Linked DNA regions of Homo sapiens: all the other regions are linked to region 3. The links are contacts of gene promoters, found by promoter capture Hi-C in blood cells and fetal thymus (Javierre and others, 2016). All regions are on one chromosome and are shown on one strand. The core of a region is centred on a gene start or on the middle of the fragment in contact, and the rest is flanking DNA. Distances in the headings are between cores, read along the strand shown.

What was found. Contacts are between HindIII fragments. The CHiCAGO score rates a contact against its expected background, and 5 or more counts as called.
Region 1: a fragment that was not itself captured here is called in contact with the fragment with the promoter of ADAMTS4 in region 3 in 10 of 17 cell types (M2 macrophages, monocytes, erythroblasts and 7 more); the score reaches 9.8 in M2 macrophages.
Region 2: a fragment that was not itself captured here is called in contact with the fragment with the promoter of ADAMTS4 in region 3 in 8 of 17 cell types (erythroblasts, M2 macrophages, monocytes and 5 more); the score reaches 8.8 in erythroblasts.

Annotation. Positions count from the first base shown.
Region 1 is chr1:161,338,926-161,342,606 of GRCh38, forward strand. SDHC (succinate dehydrogenase complex subunit C) reads left to right here. Exons shown (of 6, transcript NM_003001.5): 4 at 1,669-1,730. Among named protein-coding and RNA genes, the nearest start is that of SDHC, 26 kb to the left of the region's middle. The HindIII fragment of the contact is 9,839 bases long and covers 1-3,681 here.
Region 2 is chr1:161,358,065-161,361,263 of GRCh38, forward strand. All of the region lies in intron 5 of SDHC (succinate dehydrogenase complex subunit C), which reads left to right. Among named protein-coding and RNA genes, the nearest start is that of CFAP126, 8.2 kb to the right of the region's middle. The HindIII fragment of the contact is 4,866 bases long and covers 1-3,199 here.
Region 3 is chr1:161,197,118-161,200,379 of GRCh38, forward strand. ADAMTS4 (ADAM metallopeptidase with thrombospondin type 1 motif 4) reads right to left here and starts at 1,937. Exons shown (of 9, transcript NM_005099.6): 1 at 878-1,937. The coding sequence starts at 1,510. It also overlaps a transcript of NDUFS2 not described here. RefSeq lists enhancers at 1-676, 3,202-3,262. The HindIII fragment of the contact is 11,321 bases long and covers 1-3,262 here.

The DNA.
Region 1 (3,681 bases), core at 263-2,762, 140 kb after region 3:
CCAAACTCCGCCCCCCGGATTCAAGTCATTCTCCTGCCTCAGCCTCCCAAGTAGCTGGGATTACAGGCATGCACCACCACGCCTGGCTAAATTTTTGTATTTTTAGTAGAGATGGGGTTTCACCGTGTTGGCCAGCCTGGTCTCGAACACCTGACCTCATGATCCACCCGCCTCAGCCTCTTAAAGTGCTGGGATTACAGGCGTGAGCCACCGTGCCCGGCCTATAGTGATTACTTTCTAATTGTATCAACTGTATTTATTTATTTAGAGGCATGGTCTCTGTCTCTCTCTCCCCAACCCGGGCTGGAGTACAGTGGCACAGTCATAGCTCACTGCAGTCTGGAGTTCCTGGCCTCAAGCGACCCTCTCACTTCAGTCTCCCAAGTAGCTGGGACCACAGGCCTCTGCCACCACACCCAGCTAATTTTTTTTTTTTTTTTCGTAAAGATGGGGTCTCATTACGTTGCCTAGGTTGACCTTGAACTCCTGAACTCAACGGCCCCCGCCTTGGCCTCCCAAAGTACTAGGATTACAGGTGTGAGCCACCATGCCAGCTCCAACTTTAATGAGTGTCTTTGACCCATGTTTCTCCTTGCGAAAGGAGTTTTGAGTTATAATCATTTTTTTTTTTCTCAGCCCTATCAGTGATGCAGTCTGGTAAAGGTAGGGATCCTTCTCCATAAATCAGTTTTCTTTATTCTTTAATTTATTTTTGTAACCTAATCCTGATACAGGTGTTTTTTTTTTTTTTTTTTTTTTTTTTTTGGAGACAGAGTTTCACTCTTGTTGCCCAGACTGGAGCTGGAGTGCAATGGTGCGATCTTGGCTCACCGCAACCTCCACCTCCTGGGTTCAAGCAATTTTCCTGCCTCAGCCTCCCGAGTAACTGAGATTACAGGCATGTGCCACCACATCCGGCTAATTTTGTATTTTCAGTAGAGACGGGGTTTCTCCATGTTGGTCAGGCTGATTGCGAACTCCTGACCTCAGGTGATCCACCTGCCTTGGCCTCCCAAAGTGCTGGGATTACAGGCGTGAGGCACCGCGCCTGGCCCAGGTTTGTATTTTTAAAGTAAAAAGTGGAAACACGGCTGGGCACAGTGGCTCACACCTGTAATTCCAGTACTTTGGGAGGCCGAGGTGGGCGGATCATGAGATCAGATCAAGACCAGCCTGGCTAAGGTGATGAAACCCCTTTACTAAAAATACAAAAATTAGGCGGACCTGGTGGCAGGCACCTGTAATCCCAGCTACTCAGGAGGCTGAGGCAGGAGAATCTCATGAACCCGGGAGGCAGAGGTTGGAGTGAGCTGAGACTGTGGCATGGGACTCCAGCCTGGGTGACAGAGCAAGACCCTGTTCCGGGGGGGTAAAAAAAAAAGTGAAAAGACAGGAATGCAAAAGCTGGTGATTTTTTGTTTTGTTTTGTTTTGTTTTAAGAAAATATTACCTATTCAGGAGAATTGCTTGGACCCGGGAAGTGGAGGTTGCAGTGAGCTGAGATCATGCCATTGCCAGCCTGGGCAACAGAGCGAGACTCTGTCTCAAAAAAAAAAAAAGAAAAAAAAGTGCCTATTTCAGAATTAGTTTATATTTTTGCCAAGATAGACTCTCTACTATGGTGTCATCTTTTCCTTTTTAAAATTGTCTTTGTGTGTTTCTTTACAGTTGGTCTCTTCCCATGGCGATGTCCATCTGCCACCGTGGCACTGGTATTGCTTTGAGTGCAGGTATGTATATGTGTTTTTACACACACATATGTGCTTCTTTGAAAAACTTGGCTGTTTCATTGGCCCTAGTCTCCGCCTCCTTTGAAACTCAGCACTTGATTTAGAGGGAACAGTAAGTCTCTTAAGTTTATTGTTCATTCATCCCTTTAACAATTAATTATGAGTTTGCACTGTGCTCAGATTCTTTTCTTCTTTTTTTTCTTTTTGAGACAGAGTCTTGCTCTTTTGCCCAGGCTGGAGTGCAGTGGCGCGATCTCGGCTCACTGCAACCTCCGCCTGCTGGGTTCCAGCGATTCTCCTGCCTCAGCCTCCTGAGTAGCTGGGATTACAGGCATGTGCCACCACGCCTGGCTAAATTTTTGTATTTTTAGTAGAGACGGGGTTTCACCATGTTAGCCAGGATGGTCTTGATCTGACCTCATGATCCGCCTGCCTCAGCCTTCCAAAGTGCTGGGATTACAGACATGAGCCACTGTGCCTGGCCCAGATTAGTTTCTTAGCAAATTTTTAAACCATTCCCTAGCACTTCCTGATATCATGTTTATTGAAATTATAGAGAGCAGAGAAATGTAATAGAGATGGGCTGGCTGACTGATCATTGATGAAACACAGTCCAACCTTATTTTTCCAGAAGCTCAGTTTTAGCACCCATTCTTATCACCTAGACATGCTCAGTCCCCCAAAGACTAGCTCACTAACCAGTCTCACAAAATCTTGATTTACAGACCAGAATGTCTATTTATTCATTTATATAATATGAACTGCAGCTACAGAGTGAATTATATACTGGTCTTAGATAATTAGTACATCCTTTTTAGGTAGGAAGGTTTATTATATGGAGTGCAGATTATAATCAGTTTTCTGGGATCTGATGTATCTTTTCACAGTAGGGATATACTTTACAAGAGGGTCAGCTAGATTTAAAAATTATGTCTGGCTGGTGCTGGAGACATAGACATTTTTGCTTTTTTATGTATTTATTTTCTCACAAGAATGTGCATGTAACATATTTTTACTTTTTTAGCTTTCCTTTATTTAGCCTTATAGCATACTTTGCTCTCCTACCCCCACCAAAAACAGAAACAAAAACTAGATTATGTTCCCTGGATACATGCTCTTAAAGCATTCTAGTTTTTCTTTCATAATCATAGTTGTAATTTACTTGTTCATTGTTGTTCTTCCTTACTGGATTGTCTGTTCCCTGAGGGCTTAGACTGCATCTGTCTGTATTTTTAATTATCTAGTAGGGTACCTAGAATGCAGTAGATAATTTAGTAAATATTTGGTGAATACAAAATGAATACCACTCTCTTTTTTGTTAATGTGTTTTATATATTTCTGTCCCAAATTTCTATTCCATTTATAATCATATTTTTTGGCTCTAGAAGTATCTTATTTTGGTCCCCTGCATATTGACTATAATAACTACCTAACTAGTATTGTATTTCAACTGGCATTTCTGTGTGATGTGATTACTAGTTTAGCTGAAAGCTATTCAGTTCAGTGGGAGCCAGAAGAGGTTATTGTACATGAGAGTGCTGCATAGGTAAATCTGAGTTTGCTCTCTATTAGTCTCCTTGAGACATTGGGGGAACTTGTGTTCTCTCCCAGCGAAGGTGATCTAGCCCATATATATCCACAGGGAGAACAGGTGCAAACTAGGAGTAGTGGAGTGCTTTCTAAAAGAAATGCTCCAATGCACTATTAGCACATACTCAACAAGACTTCTGTTCCAAGTTGATAGTCCTGGGACCTTTGCTGGCAAAGGAAAATGAGCTTATGACTTAGAACAGTGTGTAAATCCCTGCTGTGTGTACAAACTTTTCTCTCCTGTGGATAGTTCCCTGGTATGTCTTTTTTTTTTTTTTTTGAGACAGAGTTTCGCTCTTGTTGCCCAGGCTGGAGTGCAATGGCACAGCCTTGGCTCACTGCAACCTCATGAGACCAGCCT
Region 2 (3,199 bases), core at 298-2,797, 160 kb after region 3:
CTTGCTCCATTGCCCAGGCTGGAGTGCAATGGTGCAATCTCAGCTCACTGCAACCTCCACCTCCCAGGTTCAAGTGATTCTCCTGCCTTAGCCTCCCAAGTAGCTGAGATTACAGGTGCCCACAACCACGGCCAGCTAATTTTTTTTTTTTTTTGGTATTTTTAGTAGAGACGGGATTTTGCCATGTTGGCCAGCCTTACAGGTGCCTGCCACCACACCCAGCAAATTTTTTTTTTTTTGTATTTTTTAGTAGAGATGGGGTTTCACCATGTTGGCCAGCCTGGTCTTGAACTCTTGGCTTCCCAAAGTGCTGGGATTACAGGCGCGAGCCACTGCACATGGCAGGAATCATTTAATAGATTGGAAACTGTCCATGTTGCCTCCTATGTGACCTCATCGTCTGCTCAAAACTGGTTTCTAAAATTAGCCAGGTATGGTGGTGTGCGCCTGTGGTCCCAGCTACCCGTAAGGCTGAGGTGGGAGGATCGAATGAGCCTGGGAGGCGGAGGTTGCACTGAGCCGAGATTGTGCCACTGCACTTCAGCCTGGGTGACAGAGTGACCCCATCTAAAAAAAAAATAGGCGGGCACAGTGGTTCACGCCTGTAATCTCAGCATTTTGGGAGGCCGAGGCGGGCGGATAATCTGAGGCCGGGAGTTCGAGACCAGCCTTACCAACATGGAGAAACGCTGTCTCTACTAAAAATACAAAATTAGCCGGGCATGGTGGCACATGCCTGTAATCCCAGCTACTCGGGAGGCTGAGGCAGGAGACTTGCTTGAACCCGGGAGGCAGAGGTTTCAGTGAGCTGAGATCATGCCATTGTACTCCATCCAGCCTGGGCAACAAGAGCGAAATTCCGTCTCAAAAAAAAAAAAAAAAATACAAAAATTAGCTGGGGGTGGTGGCATGTGCCTGTAATCCCAGCTACTTGGGAGGCTGAGGCAGGAGAATCCAGGAGGCAGAGGTTGCAGTGAGCCAAGATCATGCCACTGCACTCTAGCCTGGGTGACAAAAGTGAAACTCAGTCTCAAAAAAAAAAAAAAGAAAAGATTTTATATTTTGTAGTCTCCCTAGTTTTGCTTCCAAGAAGGCAATTAAAATTCAGTTCTTTCTGTATTTTCATTACTTCTGAATCTGAGTCAACTGTCAGATGGATGCTTTTGCCTTAATTTGACTTTTTATTACTTCCAAATCATAGCCTTAGAGACAAGCACTTTCTGGATTTCAGTCTGGTCCAATAGACAGTTTAATGGAATAAAAAAAATGAGAGACTAAATTACTTATTAAATTAAGTGTCTGTATCAACTGTTCCCTGGGGCAGTGTTCAGTTTGATTTAAAATGACTTTTTACTTCCCTGAGGGGGAGGCAGTAGAGAGGGAGGACATTTCCATTAATGACTTCCTATTCCACAGAACAAAGCTCTGTAAAGAAAATCAGCTGATCAGCTTCCTCTGTTCATATTTTGGCTCAGACAGAGACTTGCCCTATATTTGTCTTTGTCTCAATATGGGGGTAAGAGAGGGGAGGTTTTATAAAATTGCAGAACTTAGAGCTTTTCTGCCCTGGTTCTTGCCTGTGATGGTAATCTTTTTGTTGAGGGAAGTGAAGAACCTAAGGGTCCTTAAGTCTGCTTTTATTTTTTCTTCTAGCAAGTACTGGCTGTGAGTGTGGGACAGGATTTTGTGTTTTCTGTGACAGTCTGCAGTTTTTGGCCTCTGAACTTGATAGTTGACTTGCCAGAAGATCTAATGGGGGAGTGAGGAGTGAAAGAGTAGGATGTTATAGGGTCTGTGGCATTCTAGGGAATATCCCTGCCTACTACTGCTACCCAGTAGGACTCACTCTCTATAAAACATTGTCCTTATTTAAGCAAAACAACTCTTTGTGGAATCTGCTTGACTCCTAATCTCCTAGTTAGAAGCAATTTGAGGGTTGAGGTGGAGGCATCTTCTCATCTTGATTTTTTTTTTTTTTTCTGGGCTTCCATCTTTTCTCTGAACTGACTCCTAATTTAGGCAGTTTTACATTCAGACTGTGGGTGTATGTGTGTATGTGTGTGTTAAGGCGCCATGTATGTGGGAAGTGTGGAAAATGAAGACTGCTTTTGCCCCATGGGCTCATTTAGTGACTTATAATATAATATTAATATGTTAATATCCCTAAGACACAAGAGAGTCAAAATTAGTGTTTTGTTAAATGTGGGGCTGGGGGCATGGTAGCTCATGTCTGTAACCCTAGCACTTTGGGAGGCCAAGGCAGGTGAATTGCTTGAGCTCAGGAGTTCAAAACTAGCCTGGGCAACGTGGCAAAACTTCATCTCTACCAAAAATACAAAAAATTAGCTGGGCATGGTGATGGGTGCCTGTAGTCCCAGCTACTTGGGAGGCTGAGGCAGGAGGATTGCTTGAACCTGGGAGGTCAAGGCCTCAGTGAGCTGAGATTGTGCCACTGCACTCCAGCCTAGGTGACAAAGTGAGACCCTGTCTCAAAAAATTAAAAAAAAAAAAGTGGGGGTGGGTGGTGGGGTAGGGGCTGGGTGAGATGGCTCACACCTGTAATCTCAGCACTTTGGGAGGCTGAGGCGGGAGGATTGCTTGAGCCCAGGAGTTCAATACTAGCCTGGGCAAGACATAACAAGAGTCTATCTCTATTTTTTAGTATTAAAAAGAAAAGTGGGTTTTAACTCAATTGGTAGAAAACCAATTTAGTGGCATGCTACCAACAAAAAAAGAAATTTAAATAGAATAGAAAATATAGGCTGGGGCTGGGCGTGGTGGCTCATGCCTGTAATCCCAGCACTTTGGGAGGCTGAGGAGGGTGTATCACTTGAGGTCAAGAGTTTGAGACCATCCTGGCCAACATGGTGAAACCCCATCTCTACTAAAAATACAAAAATTAGCTTGGCATGGTGGCATGCGCCTGTAGTCCCAGCCACTGGCAGGGCTGAGGCAAGAGAATCGCTTGAACCTGGGAGGCTGACGTTGCTGTGAGCCAAGATGGCGCCACTGGAGTGGCTGGGTGCAGAAGTTCACGCCCGTAATGCCAGCTTTTAGGGAAGCAGAGGCAGGAGGATAGCTTGAGTCCAGGAGTTCAAGACCTGCCTGAACAATATAATGAGACCCCGTTCTCCACAAAAAGGAGAAAATATATGTTTTTTAATGAAGTTTATTTATATATAAAATATATAAATATATA
Region 3 (3,262 bases), core at 687-3,186:
AAGGGGACGCCACATCCCAGGGCTGCGGGAGCCCCAGAGGTGAAAGCAGCCTGGACTGCCGTCAGGAGGGACTTTGGGGTTCTCCAGGCCTGAGTGTGGCTGGGGCCTATGGGACCAGGGCTAGAGGGCTGGGCTGCAACGTGTCTGCCCTGTGTGGTTGGAGGAACGATTCAGTCAGCAGCTAGGGCCAGGGCCAGAGCTCAGCGTGGCGGTTGTGGAGGGAGCGTCTGGTCTGGATTAAAGCTAGAGAGGGAGGAGGGAGGAGGGAAGGGAAGAAGGGGGAGACCAGGAGTGGGAGGGAGGAAAGGATGGAGCCTCAGGCAGCCTCGCAGTCCGGCCACAGTGTGTGAAGGGGATTGACCAGAAGGAGGTATGGGATACCCTCCCTCTCTTGCCACTCCTGCCCTAGTTTGCAGTTTGCCACAGTGATTTTAAAGGCAGCATCAGAAGCCAGACACCAAGCCCTAGGGCCTCAAACCTGACTCCTATAGCTGGGAGTGGGGGATGAAAATCAAATTTGGAGCAGAGAAAAGAGCCAAGGCCAAGGGGCTGTTAGGAGACCTTTACTGCTGGGGACTGTGTCAGTAGGAGATGCCATGGCCAGGAAGGGGTGGGGTGGGGAGAGGGAGCAGTTATTCCCAGCCCAGAGTCTGTGACCCACCTCTGAGAACCCTCGGTGGGTCTGGCTAGGAGAAGGGTGAAGGGGAGAGGCCTGAGCCTTACCAAGAAAGGAGGCTCATGGAGAAAGGAAAGGCAGGCAGAAGGGAGGGAAGCAGAACGGCCAGAAGTGTAAGTGGGTGGAGAGAGGGTGAATAGGGGTCAGTAGGACAGACATGGCGGGAGGACACCGCAGGACACAGACTCCAGAGATGCCTACCTTGGCTCTTCGGGGTCTGGGGCTGGGGCTTCCAAGAGGAGCCTTGACGTTGCACATGGGACCTTGACCGCTGGCAGGACTCTTCCGGCGTAGGATGTGAGCCCCAGGTCCCCCAGCAGAGTTAGGGGTGCCTCCCTCCAGGGGCTGGAGGTGGAGTTCAGCCCCCCGATATTGTAACACGCCTAACAGGGCTCCCCCATCCCAGTGCAGAGATGCCACCGACTCCGGATCTCCATTGATGGTGCCAGTCAGGTAGGTGCCAGGCTCTGCTCCACCCAGCAGCTCAGGCGCCTGGCCCAGGTACTGCACTGTCAGCCCCTCGACCTGCACACCGGAGTCCTGCTCCAGCTCTAGTAGCAGCGTCTCCCCAAAGGCCTGCAAGCGGCACAACAGCCTGGCAGGGGCGCCCGAGCCAGGCAGGACGCTGCCGTTGAGCTTCTCTGGAAACACGATCTCCTCCTCCCGGGGGAGGGGGCTGGCCAGCCGGGCTGAGGGCAGGAGAGAGGCCAGCAGTAGCAGAAGCAGCCACACCAGCCAGGAGAGCGGCACAATGGGGAGCAGGAGGCAGGGTTGGGCTCCCCACAGCCAGCGCCCTGCCAAGCCCCTCCCGGGATGCGAGCCTGTCTGGGACATGGCACTGGTACTGCAGCTGGGAGGGACTGAGGCCGTCTAGGGCACCAAGTCCTCCACACCCTAGCTTTGGAAAGCTCCTCTCTGTAGCCTGGGGGCTTGGACTCCTGCCAAGGTCAGAGGCAAAGTTTTCAGAAGGGCTGAGGACCGTTAAAGGAAATGGAGAAAACTTAGTCCTTGGGCTTGGGAGAGGTGCCCAGGGGTCTGGCTTCTCCAAACTCTCCTCCTGAGCCCTCCTTTCCTGGATCTTTGTCTCTCCCTGCCTGTGTCTTCTGCAGCTTCTCTGGCCTCTCCCTCTGTAGGACTCTGTCTGGGCCGCTTCTGTGCCTGCCCTGTCTCTGCCTTCTTCCGCTGTGCCTTTGTCTCTGTCTCTTTCCTCCTCTGTCTCTCTCGTGCATATGTGTCTGTGGGTCTCCCTGTGGGTTCTCCCCAGCCTCTCTCCGCGCCAGCTCTTTTAAGCATGGTGAGCCTCTGCGATTGATTGGCTGATCTCTAAGCCACTCAGCTGAGCTCTGTCGGTGGGACTCAGATGGGTGTATCATCGCTTCCCAAAAAAATGGGACTTGCCCAGGGGAGGGGAATCTCTAGCAGCCGAATGGATAATAGGCACTGGGCCAGCTGATGACATAGCCTTTTCCCAAACCCCACAATCAGCCCTCAGCTGTCTCTTTCCCTTTTTGGTGGGACAGAGCCCCAGGAGAGGCAGAGAGTGAGGGAAAGGGCCTGGCCGGCATGCACAGATAGGATCACGGTCCTGGGAGAATTCCTGCTCTTATAGTCTAACCTACCATGGCTTCTCTTTTCTCAAGGCTCCCTCATGCTGCCCTTTGGCCCTAGTGGCTGGTTTCCAGGGCTGAGGGGACTGAGTGAGCTGCCTGAGAAAAGAGGGTAGGGAACAGGTAAGGAGGCATCAAGAGGGAAGAACAAATAAAAGAGGTAGCTTGACATGGCTCAGGATAGAACTGAGCAGCTGGGAAGAGTAAAAAAGGCAGAACATTGGGGGAGGCAAGGAGACAGTGATCAGGGAGTTGACTGCCCAAAGGTAGGATGATCCTGCTTGGAATGAACATAACAGAGGCGGCAGATGACAAGGCAGGAGGGGTTAACGACTTTTCCTTTTATAGAAGGCGGATCCAGGGTGGCACCTCCTCTTTTCTAACGTCCCTTCTCTCCCTCAGGATCCCCCTTCCTGAGTTACCACTACCCACCCCCTCCAAAGCCCAGAACAGCCATTCCGCCTCCATTTCCCCCCAGGGTTCCCCCTCCCCACTTCCTGACTCCCCATTTCCCTGGCCCAGCTCCCAGTAGCTTCCCCCAGGCTTTTGGCCCTGCTCCTACCCACTCCCAACTGCCCTAAACCCTCCCCCAGCCTCAAGTCAGCCAGCCCCCAGCATAGGCAAGACTTGCTCTCAGGAACCCAGATTCACCCAGTATCAATCTGGGAGAATCCCCACCTGGCTCCCACCATCCACCCCACCTTGCTCTGAGAACCCAGTGGTTCCTGGAATATCTAGTCATCTTTTCTTTTTAATTCTCCCTGGGGCAGGGAGAGGGTGGAGACAGCATTGTGCATATAGGGAAATTAGGGTACTGGGAGAAATCCATTGCCTGGGGTGGGGAAAGTGGCTGGGGAGGAAGAGGTGGTGTTAGGGAAAGGAAGCAAATTATTCCTTTGGCTTTGGATAGGAGGGAACTCGGAAAAGAGGTCTTGGGTATGAACTCTCAAGGCAAGGAAGGGTTCAGAAGTAGGGGCAA